2 separate regions of the Homo sapiens genome follow, and region 1 is linked to region 2. Evidence: promoter capture Hi-C in 16 types of primary human blood cells and fetal thymus (Javierre and others, 2016). All regions are on one chromosome and are shown on one strand. The core of a region is centred on a gene start or on the middle of the fragment in contact, and the rest is flanking DNA. Distances in the headings are between cores, read along the strand shown. Region 1 holds the start of FAM78B (family with sequence similarity 78 member B). Region 2 holds the start of POGK (pogo transposable element derived with KRAB domain).

Region 1 (6,343 bases), core at 1,354-3,853, 670 kb after region 2:
CTTATGTGATTTCCCTATATTTTGGGAAAGGCTGCCATTCCCCTCCCCGTTTATGAAGGTTTAACATGTGTCACCAGAAGACAAAGGAGTTATTTATCCACAAAACTGCAGCCTGACAAGCAACTCAAATTAAGAAACATAACTACATTCCCCAATGAAATGCTTTCCTTTTGGTCTATTGCCTGGAACCTAATAACCACTGAAACTCAAACTCTGACCCCACCCTGCCCCCCAAATACCTCCAAGAACCTCGAACTTAACATGACATCACCCACAGTCCCAAGCTGCTTCCCCTTCTATCACCTTGTTCAGTTACCAAGTAAATACATTTACCTCCTAAGTGATTCTTAAATGCAAATGCAGCCAGGCCTCTCCAGCCCCACAGCACTGCCCCAAGCTAGCCGAGGGTCAAAGTATCTGTCATCACAATATTCTGAAACGCTGCCTCCTCTATTCTCTATATGGATGCAGAGTAATTTTTCTCAAAATGCATGGCTTGCCTTCATTGGCTTCCACTGAAGTTTAAGATAAGGTCCTATCAAGAGAAGACACTGGGCCCTACTAGAGGGTGAAGGGTAGGAGGAGGCAGAGGATAAAAAAAAAATACCTATTGGGTACTATCCTCATTACCAGGGTGATAAAATAATCTGTCCAACAAACCCCTATGACATGCAATTTACCTATATAACAAACCTGCACCTGTACCTCTGAACCTAAAAGTTAAAAAAATTATTCACCAAACCCAGTGATCAAGGTTAATAACACCAGTAAAAAGTCATATTGCTATCATGTACCCCTGACATAATGCAATGAGAAGGCACTTCATCTTCATGGTATTCATCCCCCAAATCCAAAACCCTGGTCTAATCATGAGGAAACATCAGATAAATGCAAATGAGGAACAATTCTACAGAATATCTGACCAGTCCTCTTTAAAAATGTCAAGGTCATGAAAAACAGAGAAAGACTGAGAAGCTGTCACAGATTGAGAAGAATAAGGAGATGTAATGACTAAATGCAACATCATATCTTGGATTAGATTCTAGAGAAAAAAAGACATTAGTGGAAAAACTAGTAAAATCAAAATAAAGTCTGTAGTCTTAATTTTAAAAAGAAAAAAGATATGGTCTATCAACAACCAATTGATTCTTGGACAGTGATTCTGATGCCCATGGTCGACACATAACACCTTGAGAAATGCCTTGACTGTGAGTTGTTTCTCCCCCTCAGTACAGGATGAGTTCTTTCATATCTCTATGCATTTTGCATTTGCCAAATGCTGGTCCTGTACTACTCATTCACCTTTCTCTTTTCAGTGAGACTCTACAGTCTGTCAGTATTCAATTTAAATGTCACTACTTGAGCAAAGTCACACGTAAATCTCTCAGTGGCCAGAGAGCCACTGAGTGGCTCTCTGACCACTGAGGGATTTACATGTGGCCAGAGATTTACATGTCTGGCCTTCCACGGCACTGGATACACAACCCCACTAAAGCAGGTGTCACAGTTTACTATAATAACTTGTTAACAGGTTTATTTTCTCCAGTGATCCATGTGCTCTTTTTCAACTTTGAATCCCTAGTACCTAGCACTATGTTTGGCTCCTGCCAGGCAGGCAGTCAGCCTTTGCTGAATGAAAGGACCAGTGATTGAGGTCTGTGGCTACACGGTAAAATGAGAGAGACGAGTCATCAAAGGGAAAAACTGCTTTTTTGTTAACTATAAAGTGAACCAAGGTGTCAGAACAGTTAAAACAAGGATGAAGAGTGCTTTTAGATCTCAATCAATTTTTAAATTACTCGTCACACCTGTCCTAGCTAAAGACTAACTCTAGCACCTCCTGCGGCCTGTTAGTCAGTATTTCACACTTGGGCAGCAGATCCAGCAAATGTTCAATGATCGCAGAAGAAATACTTAGAAGCTATTGGCTTTGAAAATAAAAATGTAAGAAGATGCCTAGTAAAAGCATCTGCTAAATATTCTTCCTGTTTGGCACATTAGACTGCAGTATCAGACACATGACCGTGGTCATACTGTACACAATGCCCAATGTCTGCCAAAACTCTGGCATATGAGAGACTTAGTGCTGGAGTACGGAGGGATTCTTCCGGTATCCCCACTACACACAGTGGTGGAAAGAAGAGCTTCCAGAACAAACCCAGTCAGGCAAAGAGGCAAATACACTGCATTTAGTAACGCTGCTGGAGCCCGCCCTTCACCCTTTCTGAAGGTAGGATACTAAAAGGGCTCAAGCCTAAATCTAATCCAACAAGCTATATTCTGAATAACGACCAATCTCTGATAAAGCTGTTCCCCTAACCCTTCTGCTGCCCGAAACACTCACTCTACAGCCCCTACTGGGCTACCGGGTTCCCCACTGGACTCTGGACAGCGCCGCGCCCTGCTCGGCCTCACCCACCCGGTGGCGCTTGGGCCCGCCCTAGTCCCCCACCCCCACCCCAGGGCACCACCTACCAGGGCCCCGCCCCGCCTCAGCCCCACGTGCGGGGCCCCACCCCGGCGCTAGCGGCCCTTTAAACACCCCCACCCTTACACATTACCCCCCCCCCACCCGGACGGCAGCCGAATAGGGACAAAACTCATGGCGTACAGCCAGTTTCCTCCGCGGAGCACGTCCTGTGCTGCTCCAGCCGTTGGGGCTCTCCACCCCGGGCCACAGCCTCCTGGCGCCCCCCGGGCCGAGGCAGCCGGGCCGAGGAGTGTCGGTGTGGTCCGGCTACGGGGCGGGGCCGGCGGGAGCTCCGGTCGCCGCCGCCGCCGCTGCTGCCTCCGCCTGCCTCTTGGGCCGCCCGCTCGCCCGCCGCTGGGTGCGCTGCACGCGGGGGGCAGCCGTGGTGCAGAGGTTCATGCAGCGGCGGCGGCGGCGGCGGCTGCTGCTGCTGCCGCCGCGGAGGCAGACAGACCGGGCGCTGCCACCGCCGCCCTCCCCCGGCTCCATGCCGCCGCCGCTGCCGCCTCCTCCTCTCCGGCGAGGGGCGGGGGGCTCCGGCCCGGGGTGGGCACCATTCCTCGCAGCGCCGCTCCCCTCCCTGCCCTCCGCCCGGGCGCTGGAGCCGGCGAGGGCACCCGCCGCCTCCTAGGAGTGCACCCTCCGCGCGCCCTGCCGGAGCGAGGGGGCGGGCGTGGGCGGACGTCGGGGCAGCGGGGACCCCGCGCGGCTGCAAGAGGAGGGGGCTTCCCCAAGGATGCCCGGCGGCTCCCCGCTCCTAGGTGCGAGCTGAGTCTGACCGGGAGCGAGCGGCGCGTCGCCATGCCGGCGTGACGGGCGCCCCCGGCTGCCCGCGCGGGCCCCCGCGCTGCCCCACGCCGCGCCGTGCCGGCACCGGGCTGCAGGATGGGCTGTATCCAAAGCATCACCTGCAAGGCGCGGATCCGGCGCGAGAACATCGTGGTGTACGATGTGTGCGCCACCATCGACCAGTGCCCCACGCGCATCGAGGAGACCTCGCCCATCGTCCTGCGCTACAAGACCCCCTACTTCAAAGCCTCCGCCCGCGTGGTCATGCCCCCCATCCCCCGCCACGAGACCTGGGTGGTGGGCTGGATTCAGGCGTGCAATCAGATGGAGTTCTTCAACACCTACAGCGACCTGGGCATGTAAGCGACTCGCCGCGCGGCACGGGAGCGGACTCTGGGCCCCCAGCTCTGCTTGCCACCTTGACCCCCCTCCCCAGCTCCTTCCTACTGCTGTCCCCATCGTCTTTCTAAACCTTCCTCCCGCCTCCTCTCCCACCTCCCTCCTCCCTACGCTTTTGTTTCAGTGACAGGGCGGGTGTAGGGAGGCTCCTTGCGAAGGCATTTTCTCGTGGTTTGCTTCTGACTTCCCAGAAACGCGAGGAGAAAGGTGCGGGGCGGGAAGAACGCGACAAGGAGGGTTCGAGAGGCGGAGGTGGGGATGGCTGGCGAGTGCCTGGCGAGTTTCAGGGCGCCGTCTGTGCTTTGTGGGGCTCCCCGGGAAGAGTTTGGGGGAAACCATAGAGGAGTGGAGTGGAGTGCCGGGGGCGCATGGGCTGTGCCGCGCGTCCTTTGGAGAAACCGGAGCGGGCTTGGAAGAGCAGGTCCCGGGCATCCGAGCGGGAGTTGGTAGTTCTGTCCTTGCCCTCGCGACTGTTGAAGTTTCGAACCCTTGTCCCCCGGGCCAGGGAGCCCGGAGGCGTTTCCGTCTGGAACCACAAGCCGGACACAGTTGCCTCTCTGTTTCCGCGCCCCCTGGACCAGTTCTGGTGGGGAGCTGGAAGGCACCGAGTGCGTCCCGGCCAAGAAGGGCGGATAGCCTTGTGCGAGCAGCGTTCGGCTGGCGCGGCGCGGGGTGTTTCTTATGCTAAAGGAAAGGATGGATCTCTTGTCTGTCTAGGGTCCTTACTTTTTAAAACTTTCCTAATTGCGGCACTGGAAGGGATTCCCCTGGCGCCCACCGCCGAATTCTATCGGCGAGCTGGGAGCTCTCCAACTTTCAGCAGCGCCGGTTGGTGCGCGCCGGGCTTGGCTGCTGCGGTGAAGACCAAGGATCGCCGCGGCTCCTCAACCGCCAGGGGCCGCAGGCTACGGGCGGTCGCGTCCGGGACTTTTATATTTACCAAATTTTCATAACTCCGCACCCGCCTCCTTTCAGAACTAGACTCTGAGCAGGTGGCAACGACAATAGCTAAAAGGTTTAGGGCCTGCCTTCTACCTGCTGTTACAATGTAGGTCTAGAACACCCTAATTAGCCAGTCTGCAGCCTACAGGGAAACCCTTTTTCTGGAAATTCAACCTCATTTCACTTATTAATCTAAAACTCTAGAGCTCCCAAGGTTCGTCTATTTAATATGGATATGGGGTGGGGGAGTTCCCATTTTAAAAGGTCAAACCATCTTTTTAGCAGCAGTTTGCAGGCTTTTTATTGCACTCTGAGAGCATGTCAGTTAACACTAGTCATAGGCGCTAAAAGAAATTTGACAGGTCGTTGTTTTCCTTTTTTCCTCCCAAAGATTTTGCACTTTTCTCTTTAAGCACAAAAGCTTAATCCTTGAGAAAACTCAATTCCTAGTGAAGAAATGTGAGGCCCAGTTTCCAATATGCCTCAGCACACTGTATTCTTCCAGAGAAGACAGCTAGATGTGAGAAATGGGGGATATTTTATTTGGGGCGAATCATGCCATTTAAAAACTGACATACCCTCAAAAGAATGATTATATGTGAACACATGTGTCTCTTAAAACTGCTTTTTAAAATAAATCCATTGTTTCCAGCCAAGTCAGAGAAAGCCACAGGCAGGGCAAGAGCCCTTCCTCTCATTTCCCTGGCCTCACCCTGATGGCAGTGGGTTGCTGGAGGACAGCAAGTGCTCCCCACAGCAGCCTGGGGCCCCTGGTAGAGGAAGCCAGGAGTGACTGTGCAGAAGCAGCCTCACTTTTCCCAAGACTGCACAGCGGAACTCTCTGTTGCCTCAAATCTCTTATGAATAAGTAAAAGCAAATATATAAATACAGAATTATTTCCGTAAAACTTACTTTACCTTAGGAGAAGTCAAGTTGAGATATAAACAGACATGGTAGTTGAACTTCCTGGAATCTATAGGGAAGGTATGTCCTCACTGGAACCAACTTTAATGGATATGAATCAGTGACAGGATTCCTGACCCTTCCCCACTGAATCCTTGCATTTGGGATTTGGAAAGTGGTTTTGTTTTTAAACTGCCACTTTTGATATTTTAAGATTCTTGGTTTTCATGTAGATGTAGGAGAGCAAAAATAGACCCCCAATAAATCATAAAGCATATTATTATAGATTTGTGTCCACAGTCTACCTGTTTCTTCATGGTTGCAATAATTGCTATGTGTTAAAGGCCACTTTGGAGCCCAAATTTGAATGAACCAATTTCCACAAGATATTTATGCCTGGAAAATTTTGCTAGTGTAAACTTTTTAATGGGAATTCATATTGCATGAAAGTTGCTGCAGTCTATTAGTTATTATGTCTACTTTAGCCAATATCTGGATTGTAAAAAATAGCATGGAGTGATTTTTCACCTCTGTGCAGTGTTCTGTCACATGAACCACAATATGGTGAAAGGGTTTGGATTAGAAAACTGCCTTTTCAATATTTTGAAAAGGATTGTGCCAGAGGAAATCCACAACATAAAATGGCAAGAAACTCCTGTTTACAGGATTGAAAGAAAGCCTGAGGTTTTGTGGTTTAAATTGTAAACTTTTCCAAGAAGGGGTAGGCTTCTAAAAGAACATTTGAAATAGTTGATGGCTATGATGGCCAGAGCTTAATTTGAACTTGAACTCATTTCCATGGCACTTCCTCGAATGATTCTATAGAAACCAGGCTGGTG
Region 2 (6,416 bases), core at 3,527-6,026:
GGGGTAACATATTCTAGGCCTGGTAAAAACATCAGGTACCAGGAGCCCTGAAGCTGCAGGAAGAAAGCTGGGGGCTGGTGCAGGATTCATCTCTTCCTATTAATGACTGAGCCACGGAGGATCTTCAAACAAGCCCACATTATGCTCCAGAGGCACAGTGTAGTGGCTTAGACATTCTCCTCACAGCAAGCCTCTGTGAGAATGGAGCGATCCTTCAGCCAGGCCCTGCTGCGCAGGCCTCCCCTCGCTCCACAGAGGCCTTTTATCTGGCTCAACATAGCAGAAGGTAAACAGGGCCGGCCCCGGGCAAAACTGAGAAGTCAGGCAGTCTGTGTACCACCTCCAGACACCCCTCCTTGGCCTTGCAGGTAGGGACCTTCAGTCCCTGCCCTCCTCCCTTTCCTCAGAAGATCAAGGGCTCACTGGATAAGTGTTCTTCCTCTAGCTTGTGTGCACTGCCTTGCTCTGCTCAGGAAGTTGGCATTCCAATGCTATCTCAAAGGGTAAATGTTGTAAAGTGCTTACACCTTGCACAGCCTCGCTAAAGCCTTGCAGCCACCCAGCAAAGACGCAGGGATCTCGGGGGAAGGGGTTGGGGTAGTTTGTACTGATCCACTGATGGAGTGCCTGCTATGGGCCAAGCACTGTATAGGACACTCAATCATATAAATATATTCTCTCACTGAATCCGCTAAACTAGGGACATGGGGATCACTACCTCACTTTTATGGGTAAGGAAACAGAGTGGTTAAGTAACTTGTCCAAGGTCACAGAGCTAGAAAGTCTGATGCCAAAGCTTTGCTTTCTTAGCAGGCCACTCAGGCCTTAGCATGGTGGCTGTAGAGAGCCTGAGGCCTCCCTTAGAAAGATGGGCTAAGGCCTCATTCCACAGAGCTAAGGAGAAAGCTCAAACTCGCTGGCGTAGCACTGCATGTCCTCCTGGCTGGCTCTGGCCCCTGGCCTGGCCTCCTATACCTGATCCCCTTCCACTCCCTGCCATGAGTTTCAGGTTCCAGCTGCAGGAGCTGCTCCTAACTCTGCACCCAAGCTCCTCTCCTCAGTGCTTTTGCCTGTGCTGTCCTCTTGCCTGGAATGCAACCCCCTTCCCTTCCCTTGGCTGATTCCATAATGACTAAGACTCAGTTCAAAGCACATTTTTTATTTTTTCTACTTAAAATTGTATTTCTATTTCAATTCTATGGAATTTTATCCTAATATATTATCATAGTTCTTATGCTTGAAAAGCTTTCACTGATCACCCTAACATAATTCTCTATAACCAAAATACATATTTTAAAAACAGATTCTTTTCTTCTAATGCTCTAGAGCAGGGTTTCTCAACCTCAGCACAACTGACATTTTGGGCCAGTTACCTCTTTGTTGTGTGTGTATGTGTGTGTGTGTGTGGTGGTGGGGGGGCATCCTGTGCACTGTAGATATCTAGCAGCTCCCCTGGCTTCTATCCACTAGATGCCAGGAGGATCTCCCAGTCCCCAACGCACCCCCACCAAGTCAGACCAACAAAAGTGTTTCCAGATATTGCCAAATATCCAGGGGTGGGGAAAGGGGGTAGTGTTTCTAGATGTTGCCAAATGTCCAGGGGTGGGGGCAAAATTGCTCACTGCTCAAGATTAGGCCTTGTCCAGGAAGCCCCGGAGTTCTCAGCCTGAATGAGGCATCCCCTCATCTTGGCTCCTGGTGCATCCTTGCAGACTTCCACCACTGCACTCTGCACACTGTGCTTACTATTACTTATGTTTACTTTCCTGCCTTGCTCACAAGACTGGAAATTCCATCAGGAAAAGAGTCTCTCTTTACGCCCAGCACTGTGCTTGGTAACTGTGGATGGATGGCTGATTGCCTGGAGGCCACAAATGCCCAATCCCCAGCACCACCAGCTGCTGGACTCCCTCCTCCAGCCCTTCTGGTTACTTCCTTCTTTTCCCACCTAAGCATGGTTGGTCTTCATCTTGCTCCTTCCTCACTGTCCCAACATTCACTTTCATTGCACCTGTTCTCCAAGGCTCTCCATTTAGATGTTCTGGGTTGACCAATCTAGCCTCAAAGCCCTGAGTTTTGACTGCCTTGAGTTCTTGTTCCAGGCTAAATAGACCTGACGCCTGCTTGGATCAGAATTGGGAAGAAGGATGTGGTGGGCAAAGAACACTGATGAGACAAAGGCAGCGCGGTGTCCACAGCTAGACTGGCAAACTGAGAGCCTGTGGTTGCACTGTTTTTTTTTTTTTTAAATTAAGGTATAGCATACATATGGTAAAATGCATTACTTTTAAGGGTGCAGCTCAGGAGACCTGTTTTGAAGAACAAATGTCAGTGTTCATGTGTAACCTTAGGGCAAGGCAGATAATCTTTCTGCATCCCAGTTCTCTCCTCTGGTAGGGAACAATTTAGAAGTACCATGCTTGTATGGATAGGGGCTCTTCATGGAAGCAAAGGATACTATGTATACTGACAATGTTTATACACAACGGAAAATAAGCAGAGAAAAGGAATGTCAATTTGTTGCTTATTTAAAATGTTTACTATTCATGCCTAATTACCACGAAGTCCAGTAACTACGGTGAATAACTATCTGTAACTATAAGTATCTACTGCATTTGCATTTGTATAAACCGACCTCTATCATACTATTCTGCGTGTATACCCTGAATCTCTGTATTCCCTGCTGCCCACCATTTCTATCCAGGTCAGCTGGACAGGCAGCTCTCCTGTGTCAACTGTGGTAAGAGGTGCTCACACAGAACCAACTAGCCTAACCTCTCATGTCAACCCAATGACTCGAGTCTTATTTAAAATGGTTCCCTTCAACCAGCAGTAAGTCAACAAACATTTACTTGGTGCCTACAATGTGCCTGGCATCAAACGCAGTGCAGGATAAGTGGGTGAACGAGAGAGACAAGGTCCTGGCTTCTAGGACTTCCAATTGAACGATGACAAGCTACATGGCTGAGGGACTGTTTCCATAACACCTCCTCCATTCTTTGCACTGCCTTTTAAAGCCACAGAGCTGTTTTCTCAGGAATGCAAACACACCGGGCTGGGCTATTTTTACTTCCCACGTCTGTCTGAGGAGGAGACTTAAAGCAAGCTGGGCTCTCAGGCCTGCATCTGCTGGCTGTGTGGACTCCACACCTTCTTACTTACCCATCCGCCCTCAGAGCAGATTCGTACTTTCTGCATGTCTGCCGGGCCGTCCTCTAGTTCCCGGCTCTGAATCTCTTCTTCCTCTTCCTCTTCTTTCAGGCTCAAATTGAGAGGGTAGGCTGTGGACTCCATCTCTGCAAGCAAGATTCAGGTTCAGAAAAACCAGGTGTCACTGTGACCTCCCCAAAGCCTATGATGGGGGAGGCTGAGCCACATACAAACCTCTTTAGCCCCAAGCACTGTTCCCGCTGGAGGGAAGTAAGGAAACAAGAGTCGGCCAGGAAGCTACAGGGTGACATGTTTAATTATGATAAGAGAGGCTGTGGGTAGATAACGTATCTGGCTGCCTTCAAATATTTAAAAAGCTATCTGGGGAAGAGAACCCAGACTGGTTTGTAGAGACTGGACGGCAGAACAGAGGCCGGCCAGTGGATAAATACTCCTGGAAAAGGTTTTAAGCAGTGAGAAAGGCAGTACTTTCTCACAGCCAGTGCCACCCAAACAGGAATCAGAGGCAGGGGAAAGGTGCTGATTTCCTATCAGTGAAGGTGTCTGAACACAGATTGGACACTTACTCAACTGGAATGGGTGCTAGAAGCCAGTTAAGCATGGGCGGAGCGGTTGGCTCAGTAGGCCCATTGCCTGGATTTTCCAAATTCAAAGGTTCTGTCCACGAGCTGGTTCAGAAAATAGGGTCATTCTACCTTAAGGGACTTTGCAAACGCAGGAGTCAGTGAAACATAGTGAGGGTTATGCCTGGATACCCAAAAAGGTGCAGAAATCGGCTGGGGCCCACCCCGACAGGGAAATAACCCATTGCCTCTGGGCTGCAAATTCTCTATTCGCTGACTCTTGGCCAGTACAAAGGGCCGCACTCCTGCCCTCTATGGGCGCGGGCAATTCCTAGGTGTGGAGTGCGGATGCATCTTGAGGGCTGCATCGGGGAACCTCCAAAGAAAAGATCCCTCTGGAGTTCAAAGTCGGTTCCTTCGATATTTCCAAAAAAGATAGGCGAACGCGGCATGGATGGGTCTAGGCTTCAGATGCCTGCAGCTGGGGCCCGAACTTGGCGGCGGTCTCCCTGCCGGCTCCGGGGCAGAGGTGGGAGGGGCCGCCTCCCCGCGCTAAGGTGCCGCAACCAGGGCCGCCGCCCGCCCTGCCCCGCCTGCGCCACCGCCGCCGCGCCCCCGGGCGCGTTCGGATTTCTCCAGCCATCTTGCCCCATTTCCCTTTCTCCGCGGAACCGCGCCGGGAGCGCTTCCGCTGCCCCCTCCGCCCGGCCCGCCTCCCCACCTGGCCCCCTCCCGGCCCCAGCGCACCTGCCGGGCGGCGAGAGCCGGCGCCGCCCGCCTCCCCGGCGGGCCCGCAACAAAGGCGGCGGCGGCGGCGGCGCAGCCTCGGCGCCCCCGCCTCTGCCGCGGCCCAGCCGCCCGGGACCCGGGGGAGGGGCCGCGCCGCCGCCGCCCCCGCCCGCGCGCACTCACCGCCGGGCCCAGCGGCCAGGGCGCGGGGTGGGGACGCGAGGGCTCCGGCCCGGCTGTCACAGCGCCATCCTTTCCGCCTCTCCGTCCTCCCGTGCGCGCGGCCCCTCGGGAGGGAGCGGGGAGGACACGTGGTGGGAGGAGGGAGGGTCCGGCCCGGAGCTGAGGGTGTTGGGAGGCGAGGGGAGGAGCGCGGCTGATGTCAGCAGGCCTCGGCGGCGCCGGGGGACGGCGCCCGCGCGAGCTCCGGGGCCCTCCTCTAGGCGCGGCTTCCGGCCGGTCCGGGCAGTCCCTGGCGGGCCTGGGTAGCCGTGCCCTCGGCCTTCCCCGCCCCGCCCGATGCAGGCCGCTTCCAGTGCTGCGTGTGACCTCGGCGTGGACGAGGCAGGAAGAGCCCAGATTGATTTTAACCGAGCGTAGCGTGGGCGCACAGTTCCATGTGCTCATTTGCAGTCACCAGCGGGTTGCACTTGCTTGGACGAGCTCTCCAGGCGTTCTCGCCGTGCTTCAGGCAATGAAAGGCTAGACCGGCAAGAGCGTGTAGGGGCATGAGGAGGGGTCTTTGGGGAAGAGTATTCGTATTCTGGCAGCGGGCTCCTGTCCAGAACTTCGTCATATACATGGAGAAGGAACTTCCTGATTTTTGTAGCTGTTGCTTAATATCCCAAGCATGTAATTCCTTGGATGAAGTGGGTGTATAGAAGGACCTTTCTTCTCCAAAACGTCCAAAGGAGTTGTTTACTCTCAGCTCTGTGGGCAATACAACAAAAGTGACCTGAGAAGCCCTGAAGCCCTTTTCATTCCAGAAAAAGATTCTGGGTATGGGTTTTTGTTGAGAACTTGTTGAAGAAAAAATTATTCTGACACTTGTTAAAACAGTAAGGAAGACTTTATACAGGGTTATTGCTATAGGTGTAAAGATGATCACACTGGGGGGAGAGATGAGGTCTAACACGGAATACAGTAAGGACAGCTGGGGATGTATAGCCAAGGAGCAGAACGAAGGGGTCAGTAGATGGAAAGTTACTGATACGAGACATCAAGCACCTAGAGGGATTCTTGCTGAACCCACTTAACAGGATTCTTGCTGAAGGCAGGCTAGGGCGATCAGATATCAAGGGTGGGGGAATGAGAAATTTGATCAGATATCCAGGGTGATCAGATATCAAGGGTGGTGATTTCTCTCTAACCTAACTTAGCAGGGTTCTTGCTAAAATAGAGCTGGGCAGGCCAAAGGTTCGGGGTGAGTGGTCAGGGGACCAGGGTGGAGGCCTGCTGAAGAAGAGGACTTAAGCCTGATTAAACTTTGGTCAAGGAAAGAGTCCGTCAAACTCTTCAGATTGTCTCTGAGACCTGAATATCTGTTGGAAAAGACCTGTCTTTCCAAGTTTTTGTGGCCACTACTACTTACATGTGAATTTTACTTCTCTCAGTCATGGGAGAGGTCACTGTGCACTGTGCTCTTAACACGTAAAATGTAGCATGACATAACGTACACATCTTGGAAGTGCAATCACGGTGACAACCCAAGACCGTAGAAGATCTAATCTGTGGGTGGAAAAGATCGTTCAAATATTGGGAGGGAGGCTAGAATTTACTTTTTTGTTTTAATGAACAATTATTTTTGTGTAAAAGTAAGTATTTGTAGAACAGGAGTGACATGTTAGTTTGAATTGATTGACATTGCCCTCTTAATTTTTCTGAGGAAATGGCAGATTCAAACAGAAAGTGAGGAGGACATTAGGAAGGGAGAAGAGTAATAGGGATGTTGCT

The links. Contacts are between HindIII fragments. The CHiCAGO score rates a contact against its expected background, and 5 or more counts as called.
Region 1: a contact is called between the fragment with the promoter of FAM78B here and the fragment with the promoter of POGK in region 2, in 5 of 17 cell types (M1 macrophages, M0 macrophages, endothelial precursors and 2 more). The highest score is 9.6, in M1 macrophages.

What each region holds. Positions count from the first base shown.
Region 1 is chr1:166,163,261-166,169,603 of GRCh38, reverse strand. FAM78B (family with sequence similarity 78 member B) reads left to right here and starts at 2,603. Exons shown (of 2, transcript NM_001017961.5): 1 at 2,603-3,618. The coding sequence starts at 3,356. LOC112268276 (a long non-coding RNA gene) reads right to left here and starts at 3,727. Exons shown (of 3, transcript XR_002958633.2): 1 at 3,550-3,727. RefSeq lists silencers at 269-328, 2,363-2,852, 2,893-2,952 and enhancers at 3,343-3,392, 3,493-3,662, 2,834-3,736. The HindIII fragment of the contact is 5,998 bases long and covers 1-5,023 here.
Region 2 is chr1:166,837,835-166,844,250 of GRCh38, reverse strand. POGK (pogo transposable element derived with KRAB domain) reads right to left here and starts at 4,776. Exons shown (of 6, transcript NM_017542.5): 1 at 4,647-4,776; 2 at 3,163-3,296. The coding sequence starts at 3,294. RefSeq lists silencers at 4,251-4,490, 4,591-5,020. The HindIII fragment of the contact is 10,121 bases long and covers 1,248-6,416 here.